3 separate regions of the Homo sapiens genome follow, and all the other regions are linked to region 2. The links are contacts of gene promoters, found by promoter capture Hi-C in blood cells and fetal thymus (Javierre and others, 2016). All regions are on one chromosome and are shown on one strand. Each heading gives the region's core, a stretch centred on a gene start or on the middle of the fragment in contact. The rest is flanking DNA. Distances are from core to core; before and after follow the strand shown. Region 1 holds the start of RNF40 (ring finger protein 40). Region 2 holds the start of PPP4C (protein phosphatase 4 catalytic subunit). Region 3 holds the start of ZNF689 (zinc finger protein 689).

Evidence for each region. Contacts are between HindIII fragments. The CHiCAGO score rates a contact against its expected background, and 5 or more counts as called.
Region 1: a contact is called between the fragment with the promoter of RNF40 here and the fragment with the promoter of PPP4C in region 2, in 1 of 17 cell types (naive CD8 T cells). The highest score is 5.3, in naive CD8 T cells.
Region 3: a contact is called between the fragment with the promoter of ZNF689 here and the fragment with the promoter of PPP4C in region 2, in 1 of 17 cell types (naive CD8 T cells). The highest score is 6.2, in naive CD8 T cells.

Annotation. Positions count from the first base shown.
Region 1 is chr16:30,760,102-30,764,678 of GRCh38, reverse strand. RNF40 (ring finger protein 40) reads right to left here and starts at 2,357. Exons shown (of 20, transcript NM_014771.4): 1 at 2,319-2,357; 2 at 2,002-2,204; 3 at 1,394-1,561; 4 at 1,120-1,261; 5 at 294-500. The coding sequence starts at 2,133. It overlaps PHKG2 (phosphorylase kinase catalytic subunit gamma 2), which reads right to left. Exons shown (of 10, transcript NM_000294.3): 10 at 3,503-4,577. CFAP119 (cilia and flagella associated protein 119) reads left to right here and starts at 2,617. Exons shown (of 9, transcript NM_001014979.3): 1 at 2,617-3,134; 2 at 3,450-3,481; 3 at 4,011-4,073; 4 at 4,226-4,395. The coding sequence starts at 2,931. RefSeq lists enhancers at 2,039-2,148, 2,269-2,528, 2,016-2,653, 2,609-2,788, 3,379-3,528 and 3 more and a silencer at 3,065-3,294. The HindIII fragment of the contact is 4,015 bases long and covers 720-4,577 here.
Region 2 is chr16:30,073,858-30,078,349 of GRCh38, reverse strand. It overlaps PPP4C (protein phosphatase 4 catalytic subunit), which reads right to left and starts at 2,356. Exons shown (of 9, transcript NM_002720.3): 1 at 2,256-2,356; 2 at 1,875-2,035. The coding sequence starts at 1,972. RefSeq lists enhancers at 1,743-1,832, 3,455-3,634 and a silencer at 1,943-2,082. The HindIII fragment of the contact is 10,067 bases long and covers 1,775-4,492 here.
Region 3 is chr16:30,608,896-30,613,025 of GRCh38, reverse strand. It overlaps ZNF689 (zinc finger protein 689), which reads left to right and starts at 2,637. Exons shown (of 3, transcript NM_138447.3): 1 at 2,637-3,189; 2 at 3,388-3,501. The coding sequence starts at 2,985. It overlaps LOC124903678 (a long non-coding RNA gene), which reads right to left and starts at 2,552. Exons shown (of 2, transcript XR_007065051.1): 1 at 2,263-2,552. RefSeq lists an enhancer at 1,641-2,610 and a silencer at 2,898-2,947. The HindIII fragment of the contact is 6,999 bases long and covers 40-4,130 here.

The DNA.
Region 1 (4,577 bases), core at 1,108-3,607, 690 kb before region 2:
AAGCTATGCCTTGTGGATCCGCAACCCACACCAAGTGCTCCAGAGGGGCCTCTGGCCAGGAGCCTCTACCGGCATCAACAACTCCTCCAACCCATCTCTCTAGCATTCAATCCCGGAATCAAAGTTGGAACCCCCATCTACAGCCTAACCTACCTCTTCCAAGAACATGGCTGATTTATTCCTTGGGAAATTCTGGCCGCCCTTGGACTCGGGCATTAGGGGAATCAGGAAGGGGTGCCATCAAGATGCAGGTGGGGATGGACACCCCTTCAGTATGGGCACAAAGAACCCACCTCGGCTGTACACTCGCTGACAGAGTTCCTCCACCCGGCGCTGTAGGCGGTCTGAGGCCTCTACCACACGAGACACAGCTGCCTTGGAGAACTCCATTCGGCCTTGCAGCTCCAGCTCCACCTCCTCACTGCTGCTGGCACCCAGTGCCACCACAAAAGCCAAGGCCGGCTCACTGAGAGGGGGCCGCAGCTGCATCAGCAAGGGGTCTGGAAGGAATGGACAGACCCTCATGAGGATAAGAGCAGCAGTTACTACCACTCTGTACCAAGTTCCAGACTGAGCCCTTCAATACTCATGGTTCACTTAATCAACACAACCTATAGTGCACTATTATCTCCATCCTGAAAGTGAGACAAATGAAATTCAGGGAGGTAAAGTAATTTCCTCAAAGCTACAGAGTTGCGTATCACATCCTCAGGGAAGCTTCCTGTACTTTACCAATATAATTAGAATCACACGCACATGCATGCACACACAATCATTCCGTTTCAGGAGCCCCAGTACTTTCTGCTTACTATGTTTATAATTTCCTCCCTTATAGCAAGTGCAACACTCATTTCTAGGAAGCGTCAAATACATATTTAATACTCAACCATAATACTGTTTTGAAACAAATGGGTGTCAAAACATGAATTGCTCTATAAACCAAGTTAGTCAGAGTCTAAAGCCTGTGTTTTTGTGCACTGCACTTTACTGCCCAAACATGAAATCCATTTCGTGAGAAGTAGTAAGATAGGCAATTCAGGGGCCCAACACCAAAGTCCCCTCCTCCCCAGGACTTCTCCCAGAACTTAAGCTCCCCAGATCCCAGCACTCTGGTCCTACCTCTCAGCTCTGATGTCCCCGGCTCTGGGAGAGGAGTCCCATCACATGTTGGCCCCTCCTGGGTCCCAGGTGCCTCAGGCGCTGAAGACAGCTCCCCCTGGCTCTCATGGCATCGGAGAAGGGCTTCCACAGTTTCATCCAGCTGGAAGGAGAAAACATCAAAAATGTTATGAATCCCTTAGTGCTTTCCAACATGATACTCCTTTCCTAGCAGGGGAATCTGGGGATTGGCAGCTGAATCAAGGCCTGGTCTTTGAAAGCAGAAGGTATCCACCTGGGCCCAGTAGCGATTGACGATGAGGAGTGTGGCATCATCTGTGGCCTGCCGCTTCTCCAACTTCTCAATTCGTTCTCGGAGTTCATCTTCACAAGCCTGCCGTTGTTCCAGCCGCTCTGCCAGTTTCTTGTTCTTGAACTGTAGTACCTTCAGGTCCATCTCCTCCTACCAAAGGAAACAAAGGGGCCGACGAGAGCGTCAAGCAGGGCCCACAAACCAATCACAGAGAGAGAAAGAGGAGCAGAGCATCTGCAATGCATGGGAGATGGAGGTATTCCCACACTAACCGCTAACAGAATCTAAGGAGGCTCAGACAACACACAGCGAAAGTGTCTTTGTTGTGAGGAGGCTCACGTTGTTTCTGCCTGTCCCCTTGTAAATCCTTAGTCTTTGACAAGTCACACGCCCCCTGGAAACCTGTTTTCCTATCTGTAAAGGGAAGACAGGCGTCGTGTTCTGAGCTTCTTTCTAACCTTTCTTTCAAGGTCCTGTAACGCGGACCTTGCTAAACTTGGGGAAGTGGGTGTAAGATTCCGCACAGTTTGGCCAGAGAACAGAGGGAGGGCTCTGGGAAGTTCTGAGGGTTAAGGCAAGAGCCCACGAACCGTGGAAGAGATGCCTCCAAGACGAATGGGCTCGATAAGAGTCGTGGTGGTCTTCTCCTCACGACTCAGCTTCTTTTCCGGGGGCCCTGAGCCCCCGTCGCCGGCGGCGCGTTTGTTGCCTGGCCCAGACATGGCCGCGGCGGCTGGAGCGATGCAGGGTCCCCTGAGGGGCGTCAAACGGGAGGAGGCGGTACTTCCGTCACCTGCAGAAGACACAGAGCAGAGATGTGGGAACGGCTGGTGTTCCACAGCCCCAAACACCCTCCACCCTGCACACACCTGCTGGATCCCGTCCCCCCCGGCGCCAGAGCCCTCACCAGCAGGAGGGTCAGCCTAGCGCCGCCATCTTGGATTTCACCGGACGTCACTGGGCGTCACTGGACGCCACTGCCCCCCCCCCAACGGTGCGCAGGGCGCAGGCGCCAAAGGCAGCCCCGGATGTGAGGAAACTTCTTTATCTTCTGCTTCTATTGGTTACGCTTGGTCCCGCCACTCGGGTCCTCTGGCTTCTTCCCAAACACCTCCTCTTTCTCTCGGTGATTGGCCAAGAGGCAGTTCCCATAGTAACTGACACCGCGCTCCCACTTCCCAGCCTGGAGGACAGCACCGGCCCTCGTATTAGCAACCTGGAAGAGAGGGCGCCCAGGTGGGCACTCGCAACTTCTCACGTATCTGCGCGTTCTCTTCGCTCCCACTGGCGTGAGCCTGCGCTTTCCGCCTTCCTTCCCTCACAAGCCCCCTTGGCAACCGTCGCCGTTGAGACGGAGGGAGACGCCCCCACGGATTCGCCCCGCCGCGCCTCTCCGCGCGTAGATTGGCCGGAGCGAGGCGAACGGGCCCGGCCTTGGTAGCCGCCGACCGAGCGCTGGCTGTCCTGGAACCTAGGCGGCGGGAGCCCGGGGCGCCTCGCGGCACGGAAGAGCGGCGAGATGCTCAACCGCAAGACCAGCCACTTTTTGGGAATGAGGGTGCAGTCGGAGCTTGAACATCTCTCCGAGCTGCGGCGGGAAGCGGGGAAGGATCGCAGCTCAGTGCATGGGTCGGCCGCGCGGACGCGTGCGAGTGTGCGGACTCAGTGGACGACGGCGGCGGCGGCGAAAGCGGATGAAGACCCCGGAGCCAACTTGTTTCCGGTGAGGGCGGGACAGTCTGGTCTGCTCGTGAATATTTATAAACCGGCTCCCCCGCAGGCGCCACCTGTCATTATGCTTACTAACGTTCGGGACGTCTCCCGGGCTGCTTGGGCGAGGAGAGGCAGGGGTGTGTGACCCCGGTGGTTACTGTGCTCGCGTAGAGCACCTAGGGCCTGCTGAAGCCCTCCCTCGCCCGCGCCTCTCCTTAGTCCTTGAGATGAGATGGCAAGTTACAGCGGCTTCTCCGGCCTGCTGGAGATTCGCTACGGGCCAGGACACCGCAGCTGCCTTCCCCAATTCGCTTTCTTTCCGCAGCCGCCGCTGCCCCGACCCCGGATCTGCATGTGGTGAGTGTGAAGAGACAAAAATTACACTGAATATTTGCGTTCTTTATTGTCTCCCCAACAGTCCTGTCTGTGGCCAGGGCATCCCCATTTTACAGATGAGACTGAGGCCTGGAGATGCAATTACTCCAGGTGACTGGAAGTTGGCTTTCCAGCCTCTCCAGTCCAAAGAGGAGGCAGTGTGAGAAAAAAAGAGCCAAAGACAGAATGTAAATGGAGTCTCATGGCCGCTAAGGAGTATTGTACAGAGGGGGACACTGAGGGCCACAGGGAGTACTTGACCAAGGTCATACAAGGTAGTGGCAGAGCAGAAAAAAGAATTCAAGATTCCTAACCCTAGGCTTTAGAAATGGAGAGGCTCATAAGAGTTCATTTAGGCCCAGAGAGTTAACGATTTGCATAGTCACACAGCAAGCTGGCAAAAGAGCCCAGCTTCACGCCGGTGGCCAACTCCCAGTCTCACGCACTAGCTGTCACAGCCTTGTCATGATAGGTAACGGCCACCAATACTCTTTTTCTTTTACTATAACAGGAAGTACCTGGACGTCCATTCCATGCACCAGCTGGAGAAGACCACCAATGCTGAGATGAGGGAGTAGGGACTGAGGGGGGCGTGGGAAGAGCTCTTGGCAAAGGCTGAGGGGTCAGGTTGGGAAAACATGAGGAATGGCTGACTCCAAAGCATGTGGTGGGTGTAGGGTGATGAAAGGAGGCCCAGTTGTCACTCACTCCTCTCTCCCTCCCAAGGGTGCTGGCTGAGCTGCTGGAGCTAGGGTGTCCTGAGCAGAGCCTGAGGGACGCCATCACCCTGGACCTCTTCTGCCACGCGCTCATTTTCTGCCGCCAGCAGGGCTTCTCACTGGAGCAGACGTCAGCGGCTTGTGCCCTGCTCCAGGATCTTCACAAGGCTTGTATTGGTGAGAGGGGGCAGCTACCAGGTTTGAGCCCCAGGGAGAAGAGGAACCGGGCCTGGCACAAGTGACCATGGGAAGCAGAAGCAGGGGATTTCTGCCTGGAATATGTCATTATTAGTAGCATCATCATACACAAGCCATCAGCTTTCCAATCCACTGCTTCCTTATCTAGAAATTAAGGATAC
Region 2 (4,492 bases), core at 1,107-3,606:
CAAAACTAACTTCCCCTCCGACTAGCTGCGTGATGTTGGGCAAGACATTATCTACTCAAAGGCTCAGTTTCCTCTGCTATGAAATGGGGCTAAGTACTCAGCCCACCCTGCGTATTCCTTAGGCTGTTGCAAGGAGCCATGGAGACTGAATATACGACTTCCTGCTATTCTGCAAACTCCAGCATGCTATCTAAGCTTTGTCTACCATCACCACCACACTGATCCAGGGCCCGTGAGGGAGACAATACTTCGAGGTTAAAGAATAGTGCCAGGCAACAACAGGTTTAAGTTCCTAAAAATGCCAATCAGGACTGAGGGAAAGGGGACAACTAAAAACACCATGGGGCTGGTCTGGTCAGCTGGCAAAAGAGAAAAGCCACAGACAGGTGGCGAAAAAGAGGCCGACCCTGCTCATCATCCCCTCACAGGCCCTGTCTGGCTGCAGGTAGTCTATGTGAGGCAGGGCCAGGCAAAGAGCCTGAGGGCCACAGATTCAGGACCCAGCTCTGCCACGTCCTCAGTGGGTGACCTCAGTTAAGTCACCAGACCTCTACGAGTCATGGCTTCCTATTCGATAAAATGCAGCAAATGATTCCAACCTCATAGGATTGCTGGGGGGAAGAGATGGATAGAAGTTTTTTGCCAGTACCGGGCCAGGCCAAATAGTGGCCCTGTAAAGGCCAATGTTTACTGTTCAATAAACGTAGGGTAATTCTGTGGGCTCTTCTGCCACAATTCTCCAGCCTGGTAGAAGCCACAATCACACAGTTCCCCAGAGGAGGCAGGTAATTAAACCCCTGACTGTTCCCCACGCATCTCAGGGCCTCCACTGTTACATTCGTCCTGCTTGGAATGCCCTTCCCTCACTGGCCCTGCCTCCATCAGCTAGCCAAATTATCTTCATCCTTCAAGGCCTACCTCCACTCAAAAGCCCTCCCTGATGGCTTTAGCCCATCTCATTATTGCCCTCTTCCAAAAGAAATAGAATACCTGGTGATTATCAAGCACGTATGCTGTACCAAAACACTGTGCTAACCTCATCTCCAGCACCAACTCACTGAATCTTCACAATCATCTTATTAAGTACTATTAATTCTGCTTTACAAATAAAGACACTTAAGATTACTAACACAGCTAGAAAGCGGCAGAGTTCAGATTCAAACCTAGAGCCATCTCACACTGCAAAACCTAGAGCCTTAACCACTACATCATCCTACTTCCCACAGAACTCTGAACTGGCCTCCCTATCGTGCTTAATTCTACCCTGGCTTACTTGCTACGATTTCTCAGGCTCCCACCCTGAACGTGAATGATCCAACTCCACCTTTTTGCATTATGGCCTGAAAAAGGACAGGACACTAAGAGCTGGCTTCAGACCCCATTCCTTACTTGTGGGTAACTTTGAACATGAAAGTTCCCACCTGTAAAATGAGTACAATACCACCAATCTTTAAGGGTTGTTGTAATTAGAAGACTTTTATAAATCACAGGGTCTTTAACTTTCCTGTCTTAAACTTTTGGTTTTTGGCTGACTCTTTTACCACCTCCTTATTCGAGGCCTCTCCCACAGTTCGGCCCCCCTCCAACAAGCTTCCGTCCCCCGACAGATGGACTTGTTTCCTTGAGTTTCCTAAGTACTTTATGTAACACTCTTACTCCACTGGAAACACATCGTCTAATAAACTTTAAGTGTCTTTATCCACTCTGTCTTCCCCGAGCAGGCTAGCTTTTCCTCGAGGGCAGCGGCTCCATCCTGCTCCTCTCTGGGAAAGCTTCCAGAACGAGGCAAGCCCAAAGTTCTCAGTTGGGTTTGCCCCAGGCCAGAACCCGTGGGCGGCGGCTTGGCCTCCCTTCCCCAGGGCCAACGAGCTCACCTGGCCTTAGCGCACAGGGCCTTGACTTCGCTCTCCTTGATGAGCTCGCAGCGACGCAGCTGCTCGATCTGCCGGTCCAGGTCGCTGATCTCCGCCATGGCCCACCCCCGGCGCGGGTCAGAGTCGGGGCCGCCGCCCCCTCCGCACCGCACAGGGGTCTCCTGGGAAAGGCCAAGACGAGCCCGCGGATCAGTGTCCGTCCGGGGCTCGGAGCGGACAACTCGATTCTAGAGCCGGCCCGGCTCCCCCACCCCCGCCTCCCCTCACATCGGCCCCAGGACCCCCCGGCGTCCAACGGCCTGGCCGCACCCCCGCTAACTCCCGTCGAACCCCGCGGTCCCGCGCTAAGGACGGTGACTTAGAGGAGTCTCGCACTATTACCGCCGCTGCGACTCCGGTTCCGGCTCTCCGGCTCCCTGCCTCCCTCTTTCACTCCGCTTTCGACCGCCGCCGCCGCCGCCGCCGCCGCTCCTACTTCCGGCCCCGCCGCGGAAGCAAAGGAGGCCAGTTCCGCCGCGCGCCGGATGTGGCGTCATACACGCTCCTCTCCTTTCGCAGCGACCCCTGCACCACTTCTCCAGCCTGAGATCGGGAAGGAGGTGGAGGAACCCGGTGGCGGCCAGTGGCAGTTTTGTGGGCTCTGCCGCTGGGCGATGTGGAGGCTATTAGAAACCCTAGACCAGTCCCCTCCCATATCATTTCATAAAAATGTTTAAACAACTGTCTTTTCTTTTTTTGAGACGGAGTTTTGCTGTTGCCCAGGCCGGGGTGCAATGGCACGAACTCGGCTCACCGCAACTTCCGCCTCCCGGGTTCCAGCAATTCTCCTGCCTCAGCCTCCTGAGTAGCTGGGATTACAGGCATGCGCTACCACGCTGGGCTAATTTTGTATTTTTAATAGAGACGGGGTTTCTCCATGTTGGTCAGGCTGGTCTCTAACTCCCTACCTCAGGTGATCCGCGCCCCCACCCACCACCACCCTTCGGCCTCCCAAAGTGCTGGGATTACAGGCGTGAGCCACCGCGCCCGGCCACAACTTTCTTTTTTCTAAATTAGAGACAGGGTCTCGCTCTATCGCTCAGGCTGGAGTCGGTGGGGCTATCATAGGTCACTGTGACCTCGAACTCCTGGGCACAAGCTATCTTCCCGCCTCGGGCCTCCCAAAGTGCTGGGATTACAGGCGTGAGCCACCGCGCCCGGCCATCCCCCATTTCAGCTAGGGAAACAAGCCGAGCTGGGGCTAGGCTTTGTAACTTTATTACACTTTTTTTTTTTAACATTACACTTTTTTTTTAATGTTACACATTTTTGTTACTTGTTTTGTCAGCCTTCCCCACCACAGTCCTTGGAGGATCCAACTTTGTCTTTTTAAATATTGCAGCCCCAGTGGTTAGAATAAGGCCTGGCACGGTAGGCATATATAGATACTTGTTAATACTTGTTCAATGGATGAGGGAAGCCAAGTTCAGATCTCTTCCTGTGCCGTCAGAGAAATATTTGCCGTGGACAACTTCAGAAGTTAACAGATTGGAGTCCACTTTTCCCACGCCAAGCCTGTGCCTCAGTCAGCATGACTTCTCTGATTCCAAAATGGCACTCTTGACATTTCTTAGTTGCTTCCGTTTTTCTTTTTGAGACAGAGTCTCACTCTCTCGCTCTGTCGCCCAGGCTGCAGTCCAGTGGCGCCATCTCGGCTCACTGCAAGCTCCGCCTCCCGGGTTCACGCCATTCTCTTGCCTCTGCCTCCTGAATAGCTGGGACTACAGGCGCCCGCCACCAGGCCCGGCTAATTTTTTTGTATTTTTTAGTGGAGACGGGGTTTCACCGTGTTAGCCAGGATGGTCTCGATCTCCTGACCTCATGATCCACCTGCCTCAGCCTCCCAAAGTGCTGTACCACAGGCGTGTACCACCGTGCCCGGCCTCTTTTTTTTTTTTTTTTTTTTTTTTTGAGACGGAGTCTTGCTTTTTCACCCCGACTGGAGTGCAGTGGCACAATCTCGGCTCACTGCAACCTCCGCCTCCCAGGTTCAAGCGATTCTCCTGCCTCAGCCTCCCAAGTAGCTGGGATTACAGGCATGTGCCACGACGCCTGGCTAATTTTTGTATTTTCATTTATTTATTTTTTTAAGACAGAGCCTTCCTTGCTCTTGTCGCCCAGGCGGGAGTGCAGTGGAGCGATTTTGGCAAACCGCAACCTCCGCCTCCTGGGTTCAAGCAATTCTCCTGCCTCAGCCACCTGAGTAGCTGGGATTACAAGCACCCGTCACCACGCCCAGCTAATTTTTGCATTTTTAATAGAGACGGGGTTTCACCATTTTGGTCAGGCTGGTCTCGAACTCCTGACCTCAGGTGATCCACTCTCCTCGGCCTCGGAAAGTGCTGGGATTACCAGCTTGAGCCACCGTGCCTGGCTTCTTAGTTGCTTTCTATTAAGTTTTGTGCCTTTTTTAAGAGGAGGAAACTGGCTCAGAGGGGTTAAATAACTTGTTCATTGCTTGTATAACAGTGGATTGGGGATGTTACACTGAAATTTGAATCCGGGGCTAGGTGTGGTGGCTCAAGCATGTAATCCCAGCACTTTGGGAGGCCGAGGCGAATCACTTAAGCCCAGGAGTT
Region 3 (4,130 bases), core at 1,388-3,887, 530 kb before region 2:
TTTTCCTGCCACATTGTTTGTCTTTATTCCTTGAAAGCTTTGAGGTTAGTGTTTTGCCCATAGTATATGCTTTACAATATTGATTAAAGGGTTAGAGAGATAGATGTGCATGTCACTAGCTAAGAGACATGGCAAATGGTGTATTCTCCTGCTCGCAGGACCCTTGGGGGTGGCATTGAGCTGGTGAAACTCTGCAGTATAACACATACATAGAAGTAGGGGCTAGGGCGGGCGTGGTGGCTCATGCCTGTAATCCCAGCACTTTGGGAGGCAGAGGTGGTTGGATCATGAGGTCAGGAGTTCGAGACCAGCCTGGCCAAGATGGTGAAATCCCGTCTCTACTAAAAATACAAAAATTAGCCGAGCAAAGTGGCGGGTGCCTGTAATCTCAGCTACTCGGGAGGCTGAGGCAGGAGAATCACTTGAACCCGGGAGGCCAAGGTTGCAGTGAGCCGAGTTTGCACCACTGCACTCTAGCCTGGGCAACAGAGCAAGACTCCGTCTAAAAAAAAAAAAAAAAAGGGCTGGGCACAGTGGCTCACGCCTGTAATCCCAGCACTTTGGGAGGCTGAGACGGGTGGATCACGAGGTCAGGAGATCAAGACCATCCTGGCTAACATGGTGAAACCCCGTCTCTACTAAAAATACAAAAAATTAGCTGGGCGTGGTGGCGGGCGCCTGTAGTCCCAGCTACCCGGGAGGCTGAGGCAGGAGAATGGCGTGAGCCCGGGAGGCGGAGCTTGCAGTGAGCCGAGATGGCGCCACTGCCCTCCAGCCTGGGTGACAGAGCGAGACTCCGTCTCAAAAAAAAAAAAAAAAAAAAAATGTGGAGGCTAATGGGGTGGGTGCTGGCTTGTTCCATCAGCAATTTTCAGTTCAGTGCCTTTCACATACATGCTTGTATCATTCTGTTATGATTCATTGTGAATTTATATGCTTTACTAGACTGTAAGCTCCATTCAAAGCATGGCCTATGACTTATTTATGTACGCTCTCCCAATTGCCTAGCACTATGCTTTGTACGTTGAACAAATGTCACGTGAAAATAATGTAGGGAGATTATGCAGAATATTGAACTTGAGAAGAAAACAAGAGCTCAGGTGGATTCCTGGTTTAGCAAGCAAATTAGGATACTGTGAAGGAAGGATGCCTATCAGTGGTATGAATAAAGGCTCTGTCTGCCCCAGGTTTAAATCTTTATTCCCCACTCCTTACTAGCAGTATGGCCCTGGAAACTCATGGAATCCCTCTGAGATCGTTTCTTCATTAGTAGAACCAGGATGATAACCATTGGTTCACAAAATGCTAGTAAAGAATTAATAACGGGCTGGGTGTGGTGGCTCACTCCTGTAATCCCAGCACTTTGGGAGACCGAGGTGGGCGGATTGCTTGAGCTCAGGAGTTCGAGACCAGCCTGGGAAACATGGCGAAACACCGTCTCTACCAAAAATACAAAAAATTAGCAGAGCACTGTGGGTGCATGCCTTCACTCCAGCCTGGGCAACGGAATGAGACCCAGTCTCAAAAAAAAAAAGCGAATAACTAATGGCTCCGGTGCTGTGGCTTATGCCAGTAATCCCAGCCCTTTGGGAGGACGAGGCAGGAGGATCACTTAGCCTAAGGGTTCGAGACCAGCCTGGGCAACACAGGGAAACCCTGACTCAACAAATAACATAAAAAATTAGCCAGGCGTGGTAGTGCACACCAGTAGTCCCAGTTACTCTGAAGGCTGAGGCAGGACGATTGCTTGAGCCCAGGAGTTAGAGGCTGCAGTGAGCTGAGATTGCACTACTGCATTCCATCCCGCCCGGGTAACAGAGTGAGACCCTGTCTCAAAAAAATAAAAATAAGGCCGGGCATAGTGGCTCACGCCTGTAATCCTAGCACTTCGTGGGGCCGAGGTGGGTGAATCACTTGAGGTCAGAAGTTCGAGACCAGCCTGGCTAACATGGTGAAACCCCATCTCTGCTAATAAATATGAATATTAGTCAGGAGTGGTGGCACGCGCCTGTAATCTCACTTACTCGGGAGGCTGAGGCAGGAGAATCGCTTGAACGTGGGAGGTGGAAGCTGCAGTGAGCCGAGATTTCGCCACTGCACTCCAGCCTGGGCGACAGAGCACGACTCTGTCTCAAAAATAAATAAATAAAATAAAAATAAAAAATAATAAAGATGAAATATGTAATATGCTGGGCATGGCGCCTGCCCCCAGGAAATGCTAACCATAATTCCCTCCCCTAAAGGGCAAACAAAGAAGATAACCATTCTCCAAAGTCAAGGATGCTCTGAGAACACCAGTAAAAGGAACTCAGGATAATCTCAGCTCTAACTCGGCCAGAGTGGCTCCATCGCTCAAATCGTTCCCTCCTTCAGTGATTGGCTGAGCCTGCCAGAGTCGAACAGCGGAAAGCAGCCCCGGGGCCTCTTGCTGCCCCCAGGTCGGTGCAAGTCGCTTCACAACTCCTTGTAGTCGCCTGATCCTAGCAGTCCAGCTTCCTGCCCTTATGCAGCTCTTGGCTTCGTTCAAACGGACCGCCTTTGCTAGCACCCAATCAGAACGCTCGATCTTCGGCTCTCGTCCAATGAACGCGCGTATTGGGGAGGGGAAAAAAGACGGCGTGAAGCCCAATCGCAGCGCCATTACACTTGAGGGCAAAGAGGTTAGGAAGCCGGCATGGCGCTCCGGTCAATAAAATCGATAGCTGGAAGCTGCCTGTGTTCCAGGCAAAGGCGGTGCGGTAGCAGCGCCGCCATTTTCCCCGAAGGCATCTTCCGGTGCCTTTCACCCAAGTTCGGGCAGGAGTTTCCTGAATAACAGCAAAAGGTTTCCGTTAGCCCCGCGGGCGACCAATTCCGATTCCCTCCGGGCCTCCCCGGCCACGCTCAGCCCTGGTCCGGCAGGGGCTCCTCGATCCCAGGGGCCGCCAGCGCCCGAGGGCCGAGGCCTGGACACGGAAGGCCGTGGCGCCGGCTTCTCGGGTCCCATGGCGCCACCTTCGGCTCCGCTCCCTGCGCAGGGACCAGGAAAGGCCAGACCCAGTCGGAAAAGGGGCAGGAGGCCGAGGGCTCTGAAGTTCGTGGACGTGGCCGTGTACTTCTCCCCGGAGGAGTGGGGCTGCCTGCGGCCCGCGCAGAGGGCCCTGTACCGGGACGTGATGCGGGAGACCTACGGTCACCTGGGCGCGCTCGGTGAGGCCGGCCCCATCCGCTGCCGCGGGGCGCGAAGGGATGCAGGAGCCGGAGAGGGTGTAGGCAGGGAGGCCACGGTCCTGGCAGGCGACCAGGTTGTCAGGGGAGGTGGGCAGGGGCTTAGCAGGAGGTGCCGTCGGGGAGATACTACTCGGCGTGATCTAGGAGCTGGCCTTCTGATTTGTTCTCTTTCCCCAGGGTGCGCAGGTCCCAAACCAGCCCTCATCTCCTGGTTGGAACGAAACACCGATGACTGGGAACCGGCTGCTCTAGATCCGCAGGAGTACCCGAGAGGGCTAACAGTCCAGAGAAGTGAGTGCTAAATAACCACGCAGAGCCTGCAGCCCTCCTATAACGTTCTACCTCTAACGGCTCTGTCCAGAGTTTTGGTTGGGCTAGGGGTGGGTGCCGCGTATTTAGTATATTCATCTTCCCAGCCTCTTGTGTCTGGTGGTGTGGGGCCGGTCCACCACACAGAGATTCCTATGTCAGTCTGCAAGCTGCAGTTTTCCACTGTGTGAATGAATCAGTGGGCTTATTCTTCGTCTTTTTTTTTTTTTTTTTTTTTTGTAGAAACATTGTCTTGCTCAGTTCGGTCTTGAACTTCTGGCCTCAAGCGATCCTCCTGCCTTGGCCTCCCAAAATGCAGGGGTTACTGGCGTGAGCCATTGCAGCCAGCCAGAATCAGTGAGCTTTTAACAGGTGCTACCCTCTGCCTCCTTTCCAGGATCTCTGCCTCTAGCCACCTTTGAGTTGGACCAAAGAGATCCTAAACTTCTCAGAGTTTTCTGGGTTTTGGTTGAAGGGAGCTCATGGGGAACAGCTGCCTGGGATGCAGGGGCCTCTTTCTGCTCTTACGGCAGGATGACCCTTATCAGCGAAGGACATACTGCAATCTCCTCAGAATCCAACAAGGCTCTGCTTAACCCCATTCAGGTAGA